3 separate regions of the Homo sapiens genome follow, and all the other regions are linked to region 3. Evidence: promoter capture Hi-C in human tissues and cell types (Jung and others, 2019). All regions are on one chromosome and are shown on one strand. The core of a region is centred on a gene start or on the middle of the fragment in contact, and the rest is flanking DNA. Distances in the headings are between cores, read along the strand shown. Region 1 overlaps SMCR2 (Smith-Magenis syndrome chromosome region, candidate 2). Region 2 overlaps NT5M (5',3'-nucleotidase, mitochondrial). Region 3 holds the start of RASD1 (ras related dexamethasone induced 1).

Region 1 (3,619 bases), core at 620-3,119, 180 kb after region 3:
CTGCTCTTGTCATACTTTTCTATTATTAAAAAAGAAAGAAAACACATGTTTTATTAGTAGCTAAGCACTTTTATTTAATAACAAAAAATCTGTAGGGCCTGAAAGCATGGCAATTCTAACCCCTCTATTTAAAAAAGACCTCTGAAGTACATATCCCTTAGGACTGTGCATGGGTAGTCAAAGCTTAATGACCAGCGGGGGATCAGGAGGGTGGAGGGGTCTGTGGTCAGCAGCTCGGCTGTCCTGGTGGTTTTATTTCTTGAGCTGACAGTGGTGAATGCAGGAGTGATCAGTGAATTATCTTCCATACCTTCTTGAATATCTTAAATATTTTATAATTAAAGATTGGGTGTGACTGATATTCTCCGGCTCTACATGAAAGCTGGTTGGAGGTACTAAGTCACATTCACAAATTACAGGATCTCTGTCCTCCTAGTCAGCCTGAGTTTCTTTCACCACATCCTGGCTCTGTTTGCATACCCCCAGAAACGGGAAGCTTCCTCTCTCTCTCTTGAAATTGCCTGGGGCCCTCTTTGAACAGCTCTAATTGTGGGAAAGTTCCTCATAAAGAGCCAGAAGCCTGGTCCAGTCCCTCTGCCCACTGGAACCACACAGTCTGTGTGTGATCACACAAAGCCCAGGCGGCCCTTTAGATCTTTGAAGACAGTGCTCATTCTCCTTTTCTCCCCATTCCAAATTTTTCTTCTCTGTGTAAAGTCTCAGTTCTTTTTCAGGCAAGTGACAGAAAACCAGCTCAAACTGGTTTATGATAAAAGGTGAATGTATTGGCTCAAGTGACTTAAAGTCCTGGGGTTGCTGAGCTTCAGGCGCAGCTGAATCCAGGTGCCCAGAAGGTGTCTCCATGTCTCTCAACTCCTCATTCTTCCCCATTGGCTCTGTTTTCAGACCCACAGTCTCAACAACTACCCCTGGAGGCTCCAGCAAAGCTCAGTGCTTCCAGCAAAACTCCTGGAGGGCTTAGGTCATTCGAACCATTCCTGAACCAATCCCTGTGGCCAGGCAAATGGGGCAGTTTGGTCAAACCTGAGTCACGTGACAATCTCTGCATCCTAGAGGTAGGGACCGCCCAGCCTGAACCACATGGGCCATAAGTGGGAAAGAATGGTGCCCACAGGAAAATTGATTGTAATTACCACCAAAAGACTAGATGTATTAGGTAGGACAGAGGCTTTATAACAGAGATCCACAATAACACCGGCTTAAACAAGATGGAATTTTATCCCTCGCTAACTCCAGATGCAAGAGATCTTGGGCTGATACAGTTAATTGTATGATTAGGGTGCCCCATAGCTGAGCATTCATTATCTGAGTTGGAAGTTAAGAGTTGTTAAAACATGAATATATTTAGTACTGTCCTGGCCACTTACTTCGTTCCCAGTCAAGCATCTCACCCTACCTAGCACCAGCATCTGTCCACCCCCCATCTGCATCTCTTCTGTCTGTCAGGTCTGCTTATGCAAGCTGGTAGCAAAGGAAAACTTCAAAGTTGTAGAATTTCTTGAAGTTGATGAGAGTTACGTTGGAGAGCTCCTGGGTTCTGCACACAGTGGCTGACAAACCAAGGATCTATCTATCTGGCTGGGTCAGCCCTGTCTAAATAATGAAAACCCCCAACGTGAAGAAAGATGAACCTGTGCTTTGGAAGAAAATGATTTGAATGTCATAGAACTCAGAGTGGCCCAAAGAACTCAGGGGGATGTGATGAAGCATTCTGGTTGTTAGGACCCAGAAGGTTCTAGTAAGGACCATCAGGCAATTTTGTGGGAAGAACTATGCCTACTCCAATGAACTTTTTGTACTCTAATTGTCTTACTCCATTTTCTGATGCTAAAACAGAATACCACTCTGGGTAATTTGTAAACAATAGAAATTTATTTGGCTCATGCTTCTGAAGACTGGGAAGTCCAAGAGTATGGCACCAGCATCTGGTGGGGGTCTTCATGCTGTATCATCCCATGGTGGAAGGCAGAAGGGCAAGAGAGCACTAGACAGTGAGCAAGAGAGAGCTGAACTCATTTTTACAATAAATCCAGTGTCTTGATCATGAGCTCACTCCTTCAATAAAGAGATTAATCCATTCATGAGGGTTTTGCCCTTATGACCTAATCACTTCTTAATAGTCCCACCTCTTAATACCTTCACAATGGCAATTAAATTTCATCATAAATCAGCCGGGCATGATGGCTCACCACTGTAATCCCAGCACTTTGGGAGGCCAAAGAAGGCAGATCACTTGAGGTCAGGAGTTCAAGACCATCGTGGCCAAAATGGTGAAACCTTGTCTCTACTAAAAATATAAAAATTAGCTGGGTATAGGGGTGGCCACTTGTAATCCCAGCTACTCAAAAGGCTAAGGCAGGAGAATTGCTTGAACCCAGGAGGCAGGAGTTGCACTTAGCCGAGATCATGCCATTGCACTCCAGCCTGGGTGACAAGAACAAAACTCCATCTAAAAAAAAAAAAAATAAAATAAATAAATAAATTTCATCATAAGTTTTGGAGGGGACAGTCAAACCATAACACTAAGTATTAGCACATTAATCTAAGAATTAGCATATTAACCTAAATGTTGTTTGTGGAAGATAAAATGTGTATATTTTCATAGTTTAAATTTCATTTTTCAAAACAAAATTCCAATTAAACATTTTTTTCCCAATTACTAAGAAATGTTGGTTCCCAGAGCTTTGACTTGTGGTCAAAGTGGTCTTTTTCTTGGGATAATGAGACCCTTCTTTAGAGTGGGTTCAATGTCTGTCTCACTTGCCAGACTATGGGGGCTGTGTGGTGGGTCCCACATCATTATTCCTGGAGATGGAATCTAGAATGAGGTTTGGCTCGGCTGCACGCAGTGGCTCATGCCTGTAATCCCAGCACTTTGGGAGGCCAAGGTAGGCAAGGCAGATCACTTAACTCAGGAGTTCAAGAGCAGCCTGAACAACATGGCAAAAACCCATCTCTACAAAAAATACAAAAATTAGCTGGGCGTGATAGCGTGCACCTGTAGTCCAAGCAACTTGGGAGGCTGAGATGGGAGCGGTGCTTGAGCTTGGGAGGCTGAGATGGGAGCGTTGCTTGAGCTTGGGAGGTTGAGGCTGCAGTGAGTCATGATTGTGCCACTGCACTCCAGCCTGGGTGACAGAGTGGGATCCTGTCTGAAAAAAAAATATTGCCTAGAGCTAAGTGGGGCTCTCACCTGCTCCCTCTCTTCTCTCTGCTAGAGACCAGAGGCCTTGAAGGAAGGAAGCCCAAGGGTCTCTCCTGGCTCTGCTTCCCCATCACTGCCTCCACTTCCCCGCATCCCTTTCCCTGGCAGAGGCTTCTTGCCACAGGGCTCTGGGCACTCACAAGACCTACAAAAGAAAGGTTCACATTCACATTTGTCTTCTCTGTAGAAGTGCTGGAGGCTGATGGGGTGAGGGGGAGCAGCAACAGTTGGTGGTCCAGAGTTCTACAATGTTGAACTGTTTTAAATCGTCATAAGCCCAGGAGGCACGGATTGCTACACTCCTCGTTAGAAACCAGAGTCTCAAAGAGGGTGAGGAGGTACCCAAGGCCGTGCTGTTGGTGGCACGGTGGCAGAGCTGGGGCAGGAGTTCTG
Region 2 (3,856 bases), core at 715-3,214, 160 kb before region 3:
ATGGAGTCTCGCTGTGTCACCTAAGCTGGAGTGCAGTTGCGCGATCTCTGCTCACTGCAAGCTCCGCCTCCTGGGTTCACACCATTCTCCTGCCTTGGCCTCCCAAGTAGCTGGGACTACAGGCGCCCACCACCATGCCTGGCTAATTTTTTGTATTTTTAGTAGAGGCAGGGTTTCAGTGTGTTGGCCAGGATGGTCTTGATTTCCCGACCTCATGATCCACCCGCCTCGGCCTCCCAAAGTGCTAGGATTACAGGTGTGAGCCACCGCATCCGGCCTATGGTATTATTTTTCTAGCAGTGTCATTCACCCAACTCCACACCTGCATACCCCACCCTCCTTGATTTAAGACCTGTCTTGGGATCTGCTCATCTGAGTGGAGCAGGACTCTGTCCCTTCCAACATTTTGCCTGCTAGGGACTGTGTCTAGCTCATAGATCTCTTATTTCTGATGTGTCCATTTGGTCATGGGCCTGTGAGCCACGCGGAGCAGGAAGGGCAGGGAGGTGGGGTCGAGAGCTGCCAGCCATCTGCCCCTCTGATCTTTTCCAGCACTGTCCTCTGCCAGCATCCCCCTTTACTTCTGTGTCTTCTTGGTAATCACTGAACTCTTTGCTCTCGAGGTGGTTCATGGACTTCCTGCCTGCACTCCTAGGTCTTGGAGAGAGCGCCTCCCCTGGGAGTCCTGCCAGCAATTCTTTAGCTACATGTAGTTTTAGGTTCCATGGCAGGCATTTTTCCTGATTCTGGTTTAGAACGACAGCACCGCTTTATGCTTGGATACCTTTACATTCATCTGGGCTGAACTATTTTCTCCCCAGAGCTTTCAGGAACCAAAATGGTAATCAGGTGATGAGCAGCCCTTCTCCTTCCAAACAGCTGCTGATAAACCTAACAGACCCTTGTCAGGCAAATCTGAGCTAAAGGCACAATGCCCCCACCAGTGTGCACATTATTATAGCTGTTGAACCTACGTCAGTGCACCATGGTCACTCAGAGCCCATAGTTTACATCAGGGTTCACTCCCGGTATCCTGCGTTCTGTGGTATTGGTAATCGGGGAGGCTGTGCGTTGTGTGGGAGTGGAGGGTATATGGGAACTCTGTACCTCTGCTCAATTTTGCTGTAAACCTAAACCTGCTCTAAAAAATAAAGTCTCTTAAAAAAAATCCACAGTGAATGAGAGTCCCTCTTGCTCCCTATCCTTGTCAGCATTTGGTATTGTCAGGGCTCTGGATTTTGGCTGTTCTCATAGGCAGGGAGTGGTGTCTCATTGTTGTTTTGATTTGCATTTCCTTGATTAATGACATTGGACATGTTTTTAAGCAAGTAACCCTTTGTATATTTTCTGTAACGAAATGTTCAAGTCTTTTGCCTCGTTTCTCATTGAGTTGTTTGTGAGTTGTGAGAGTTCTTTAGATATGCTAGAAACAAGTTCTTTATCAGATAATGTGTTTTACAAATATTTTATCCCAGTCTGTGATTTGTATTTTAATTTTCTTTTTCTTTTTTTTCTTTTTTGAGAGACAGAGTTTTGCTGTCACTCCAGCTGAAGTACAGTGGCATGATCCCGCCTCACTGCAGCTGTGACCCCCTGGGCTGAAGTGATCCTCCCACCTTAGCCTCCTGAGTAGTTGGGACTATAGGTGTGTGCCGCCATGCCAAGCTAATTTTTAAAACACTTTTTTTTTGTAGAGATGGGGTCTTGCTATGTTGCCCAAGCTGGTCTTGAACCCCTGGACTCAAGCAATCCTCCTGCCTTGGCCTCCCAAAGTGCTGAGGTTACAGGTGAGTTTTCTCAACAGAGTCTTTAGAAGAGCAGAAGTTTTATACTTTTAGATTTTTTATTTAGGTTATGATCCATTTGTTTTTTTGAGACGGAGTTTTGCTTTGTCTCCCTGGCTGTAGTACAACAGCGTGATCTCGGCTCACTGCAACCTCCGCCTCCCAGGTTCAAGCGATTCTACCTGCCTCATCCTCCCTAGTAGCTGGGATTACAGGCACCTACCACCATGCCCAGCTAATGTTTTTGTATTTTTTTTTTTTTTTTTGAGATGGAGTCTCACTCTGTCACCCAGTCTGGAGTGCAGTGGCACAATCTCGGCTCATTGCAAACTCCACCTCCCGGGTTCATGCCATTCTCCTGCCTCAGCCTCCCGAGTAGCTGGGACTACAGGCACCCACCACCACACCTGGCTAATTTTTTGTATTTTTAGTAGAGACGGGGTTTCATCGTGTTAGCCAGGATGGTCTCAATCTCCTGACCTCATGATCCGCCCGCCTCGGCCTCCCAAAGTGCTGGGATTACAGGTGTGAGACACCGTGCCTGGTATGTTTTTGTATTTTAGTAGAGATGGGGTTTCACCATGTTGGCCAGGCTGGTGTCAAACTCCTGACGTCAAGTGATCCACCTGTCTTGGCCTCCCAAAGTATTGGGATTACAAGCGTGAGCCACCATGCCTGGCTCGTTTTGAGTTAATTATCATATATTGTAGGAGGTAAAAATGGAGAGGTTTTTTTTTTTTTTGCATGTGGATCCAGTTGTGCCTCTGTTGGAAAGGCCACCCTTTCTCACTGAAGTGTCATGGTAGCCTGGGGTCCATTTCTGGAATGTATCCTGCTTCTCTGATCTAAGTGTCCCACCTAATGTAAATACCACACTGTCTCAGTTACTGTAGTTTTTTTTTTTTTTTTTTTGAGATGGAGTCTTGCTCTGTCGCCAGGCTGGAGTGCAGTGGTGTGATCTCGGCTCACTGCAACCTCCTACTGGGTTCAAGTGATTCTCGTGCCTCAGCCTCCCGAGTAGCTGGGATTACAGGCACGCGCCACCACACCCAGCTAATTTTTGTATTTTTAGTTGAGACGGGGTTTCACCATGTTGGCCAGGATGGTCTTGATCTCCTGACCTTGTGATCCGCCCACTTTGGCCTCCCAAAGTGCTGGGATTACAGGCGTGAGCCACTGTGCCTGGCCACTGTAGTTTTATAGTAACTTTTGAAAGCAGTGTGAGTTTTCCAAAATTATTCTTCATTTTAAAAATTGTTTTGGCTATTCTGGGTCCTTTATATTTCTATAGAATGTTTAGAACAAGCTGGTCAGTTTCTACAAAGAACCTGGTGAGAATTTGATTGCAAGTGCATTGTAGCTATAAAGCTTAACAATATTGGGTCTTCTGATCCACAAGCACATACACATCCTCATTTATGTAGGCCACCTCTACCTTCTCTCAGCAATGTTTTGTAGCTTTCAGTGTACCACTCTTGCACATATTGTGTTAAATTTGTCTCTATTTCATGTTTTTTTTTTTGGCATAGAGACTATCTTTATAAATATATTTTTAAATATTTTATAATGGTAAATACACATGATAAAATTTATCAAGTGTACAGTTCAGCTTATTTCGTTTTTAATGCTATTATAAACTTTGTTTAATTGAAATTTCCAAATATATAGAATACAAGTGATTTTTTTTTTTGAGATGGAGTCTTGCTCTGTTGCCCAGGCTGGAATGCAGTGGTATGATCTCGGCTCACTGCAAGCTCCGCCTCCTGGGTTCATGCCATTCTCCTGCCTCCACCTCCCAAGTAGCTGGGACTATAGGCGCCCGCCACCATGCCCAGCTAATTTTTGGAATACAAGTGGTTTTTTAATTTTAATTTTTAATTTTTGTGGGTACATAGTAGGTGTGTATTTATGAGGTACATTAGATGTTTTGATACAGGCATGCAATGTGTAACAAACACATCAGGGCAGATGGGGTATCCATTATCACCTTAAACATTCAATCCTTTGTGTTATAGACAATCCAATTATATTCTTAGTTGTTTTAAAATGAACAATTTTTTTTTTTGAGATGG
Region 3 (3,712 bases), core at 950-3,449:
GGGGACCCTGAAATCCTTTATATTCTTCCCGGTTTTCTAGGGAACCATCCCCTACATAGATGCCCCAGGCATCTGGGGCTTTTCTGGCAGCTGAAGCTGCCTTCAGAAGGCCAGGGTTATTTTCCAGTTCTGGGGAAGGTAAGTTCTAGTTCCACCTAAGTCAAAGCCCAGCCCTTTCCTTCTCCCCACCCTTCCCCACTCCAGCCATCTCTAAAAGCAAAAAAAAAAAAAAAAAAACCGGTTTTCCATTTTAAATTATTTTATTGTATATTAAAAAACCAAATAAAGCAATAACTTTAAAGACCTCAGACACACACAGTATAAACACCTGGGTAAGGTTTTGTTCGTGTCCATGTTGACACCGGAACTACCGTTAAAGTGCAAGTTTTGTTTTGTGTTCCTTTGTGCAGTTTCACTCACATGTAAACAAGTCACTTGGCTATGATTTGACCCACGCCCCCCCGCTTAGTTTTGGGAGGGCAGAGGCTCTACCGGCTGTCACAGCAACCCGGAATCACAGACAAGATAATGCCCCGTGGGTCCTGACCCTCAAGCGGGCATGACGGTTTCTTGAAGCCTAGCAGAGGCTGGATAACTTCACATCCCTCCCCCACCCCGCGCTCACTCTTAGGTCTTTGAGAAGATAAATCCACCCTCGGCTGGGCCCTCGCTCCCAAAGTTATGGGGGTGGCGGGCCTCAATGGGGGACCGGGGGTGGGGAATAGTCCCAGTCTTGGCCCGTTCTCTTTCCTTCCGGAGCAGATGACCGTCCCTTCTCGGTTCAGTGGCGCCTCCCCAGTGCTGGGGGCGGATCGCCGGGAGGGGAGACGCCAGTCCGCGCGCGCTCCCGGCCTGGGGCGCACCGGGCCGTTGGATTTGACTTAACAAAAAGGTCCTCCTTAGGTTGTGTCGCCAGCGCGGCGGGGCTCCTAGCTGATGACGCAGCGCTCCTTGTCCTTGGCCTGGCTGCCGGCGCTGGCCTTCTCGCGGATGTACATGAGGTCGCTGTGTACGCTGGGCCGGCGCGCGAAGGGTGCCACGATGCCAAAGGCGTCGCCCGGGTCGCCGCCGCCGCCGCCGCTGCCGGCCCGCAGCAGCTTCTTGTTCCGCAGCGCCTTCTTGTGCAGCACGTCGCAGTACTGCACCGAGACCTTGCGGTGCAGGTCTGGGCTCATCTCGCTGGGCAGCTTGGCCATGGCGAAGAGCGCGCGGAACATCTGGTCCAGGCTGCTGTTCTTCTTGGCCGAGATCTCGAAGTAGGCGCAGCGCTGGGGGTCGTCGCCCACCAGCTGCTCGATCTCGCGCTGGTCCACCTCGCGGTAGAAGTCGCGGTCACCCTTGTTGCCGCAGATGACCAGGGGCACGTCCACGTTCTCCTTGGTTTTGTTCTTGAGGCAAGACTTGGTGTCGAGGATCTGCTGCCTGAGCCGCTGCACCTCCTCGAAGGAGTCGCGGTTGTCCAGACTGAACACCAGGATGAAAACGTCTCCTAGAGGGGGCACAGAGAGCAGAAAAGGAGAAGGTGAGGGTGGCCGCCCAGGGGACAAGTCGGGCTGACTTTGAGGCCGCGCGGGGCGCGCTAGCCTCTCTAAGCGCGAAGCGCACTACTCGGCGCGCGGCAGCCGGACCGGCGCTCGCGGGGCGCCCTGGCCGAGGGTTCCCCGCCCTTCCCTCCCGCACCTGCCCGGCCCCCGGCTCACCTGTGAGGATGGAGAGGCGCCGCATGGCGGGGAACGGGTGGTTGCCGGACGTGTCGAGGATGTCGAGCTGGTAGACCTCGCCGCGGATGGAGTAGAACTTGCGGTGGAAGTCCTCGATGGTAGGCGTGTAGGCGTCCTCGAAGCGGCCGGTGAGGAAGCGCGACACGATGGCCGTCTTGCCCACCTTGGACGAGCCGAGGATGACCATGCGATAGCAGTTCTTGGCCGGGATACTCAGCTCCGAGTCGCTCGGGCACATCTTCTTGATCATCGCGGCCAGTTTCATTGGGCAGAGGGGCCGCGAGGGCGGGCGCGGGGCCGAGAGAAGGGCAGAGAGCGGCTGAGGGTCGCTGGGGTGGCACGCGGGGTGAGCGGCTGGAGGGCTCTGCTCGGGCTGGGCGCGGCTCGGGCTTGGGGCTCCGGCTCCGCTCGGGCTGGGCTCGGGCTAGGCTGGGCTCGGCTGGGGTTCTCCCAGGATCTGGGCACAGGCCGCTTGCTCTGGCTTTGGCGCCCGGCCGCCGCCCTTATATGCAGCCTGCTCGGCTGCCCCGCCCCGGCCCTCCCAGCTCGGTGCGTCACGCCCCGCGGGGCCCGCCTCCCCCGCACCGGCTCCCAGTCCCGGCGACCTCGTCACCCGCTGCCGGGCTCCTGCTCTCTGGGCGCGGGGGCTGGGGGGAGCAGTCCAGGGTCGGGCTGAGGCTGGAGGCGCTCGGACTCCGCTTTTCCACTGCCGCGGGCTCGGCGGCCGCAGGGGCGTCGGGGTTCTGGTCCCGGCGGTGCCCCTGTCCCTCTGCGACTTCGGGCAAGGACCCCCATTCCTGCACCTCCCGCGCGCGTACACTTATTTTCTTTGGTTCTCAGTTTCCCCAGAGAATAGGAATCTAGTAAGTAACCCAGTAAGCGCAGCAGCGTTTGCTGAGTGCTTGCGCGGACCGTATATTGCAGTCCTCAGAGCACAGCCCCAGCCCCAGCCCCCTTCCGCTCCGGTCCCCAGCCGGGCTCTTGTTCCCGGGAGGCGACCGCCGGGCGGACGCGGGGTTTCAGGGCCTCAGGCGCGGAGCTCGGCACCGCGCGCTCGGGCCGCCAGAGGGCAGCAGAGGGCCCGGCCGGCGGCTCGGGGAGGCTGTGGCCGCCGCGGGCAGAGCTAGAACAGAGGCTAGGAGCAGGCGGGTGGGGAGCGGCAGGGATGGAGCAGGGGTCTCAGGGCGCCTTGCTGGGGCCCAACAGGAGCGGTCCCCAACCCCGCGCTCTGCTGCAGGCCTCAGCCTGCTCCTTTCTCCCAGCCAGAGATGCTCTGTGGTATGGAGGGCTCTGCAGCCAGCGGCCCACCCCGTCCATCATAGCATTTTGGGCTTTTACTGTGCCGCGCGTGGGCCGACGTTCTCATTGTCTAGCTGAGAGACCTGGAGCTCAAAGCCACAGCGAGCCAGGAAGGCCCTGGGAGCACAGCACAGCCTCTTGCTTTCTCCTGGGCCTCAGTTTTCTCTTCTGGAAGATACTGATTCTGGTTCTGTGATTAAGGATGAAAATATGCAAATGCTTTAGGAGGGCGGGGCCTGGTAATAACAATAGCAACAATAACAGTAGTATTGACCCATGAGGCCTGGTGGGGGTACTCTCAAGAGCACACCAGGTCGATCAGTAACCAGGAGTGGGGTGATGTTGCTGAACATTGGCAACAGGCTGTCTGGAGCCAGCTCCTCAGCCCTGAGCTCTTGAGGCAGTCACTGCTCCTCAAGGCAACCTGTGTGCTCAGTGTTTTGCTTTGGCCACGTCTGACTTACGAGAAAACTAGGGAGCCATTAGCTGGCACCACCGGCCCAGCTGTCAGGTGGTGGTCTGCAGGCAGTGCTGTGAGTGCCATACCACCCACCCCATGCCTACCCACCTCCCTCCCACGCTGGCACTTGCTGTAGGGGCTGCTGCAGGACACCACTAACTTGTTTCTCAGCCCAGCTTGGCCCCCATCCTCAGAGTCCCTGCATCTCTCCCAGGCCTCACTCTTACTGTCA

The links. The method cuts DNA at HindIII sites, captures the fragments that hold promoters and counts their contacts. A contact is called where the count stands out against the background at its distance.
Region 1: a contact is called between a fragment that was not itself captured here and the fragment with the promoter of RASD1 in region 3, in 1 of the 25 tissues and cell types used here (dorsolateral prefrontal cortex).
Region 2: a fragment that was not itself captured here is called in contact with the fragment with the promoter of RASD1 in region 3 in 1 of the 25 tissues and cell types used here (spleen).

Annotation. Positions count from the first base shown.
Region 1 is chr17:17,672,152-17,675,770 of GRCh38, forward strand. It overlaps SMCR2 (Smith-Magenis syndrome chromosome region, candidate 2), which reads right to left. Exons shown (of 4, transcript NR_131243.2): 3 at 3,215-3,371; 4 at 1,875-2,005. Among named protein-coding and RNA genes, the nearest start is that of SMCR2, 3.7 kb to the right of the region's middle. RefSeq lists an enhancer at 3,253-3,619. The HindIII fragment of the contact is 4,455 bases long and covers 1-3,619 here.
Region 2 is chr17:17,331,802-17,335,657 of GRCh38, forward strand. All of the region lies in intron 3 of NT5M (5',3'-nucleotidase, mitochondrial), which reads left to right. Among named protein-coding and RNA genes, the nearest start is that of NT5M, 30 kb to the left of the region's middle. The HindIII fragment of the contact is 5,316 bases long and covers 1-3,856 here.
Region 3 is chr17:17,494,196-17,497,907 of GRCh38, forward strand. RASD1 (ras related dexamethasone induced 1) reads right to left here and starts at 2,200. Exons shown (of 2, transcript NM_016084.5): 1 at 1,701-2,200; 2 at 242-1,489. The coding sequence starts at 1,986. The coding sequence ends at 930. RefSeq lists silencers at 2,131-2,350, 2,511-2,640, 2,691-2,920. The HindIII fragment of the contact is 34,145 bases long and covers 1-3,712 here.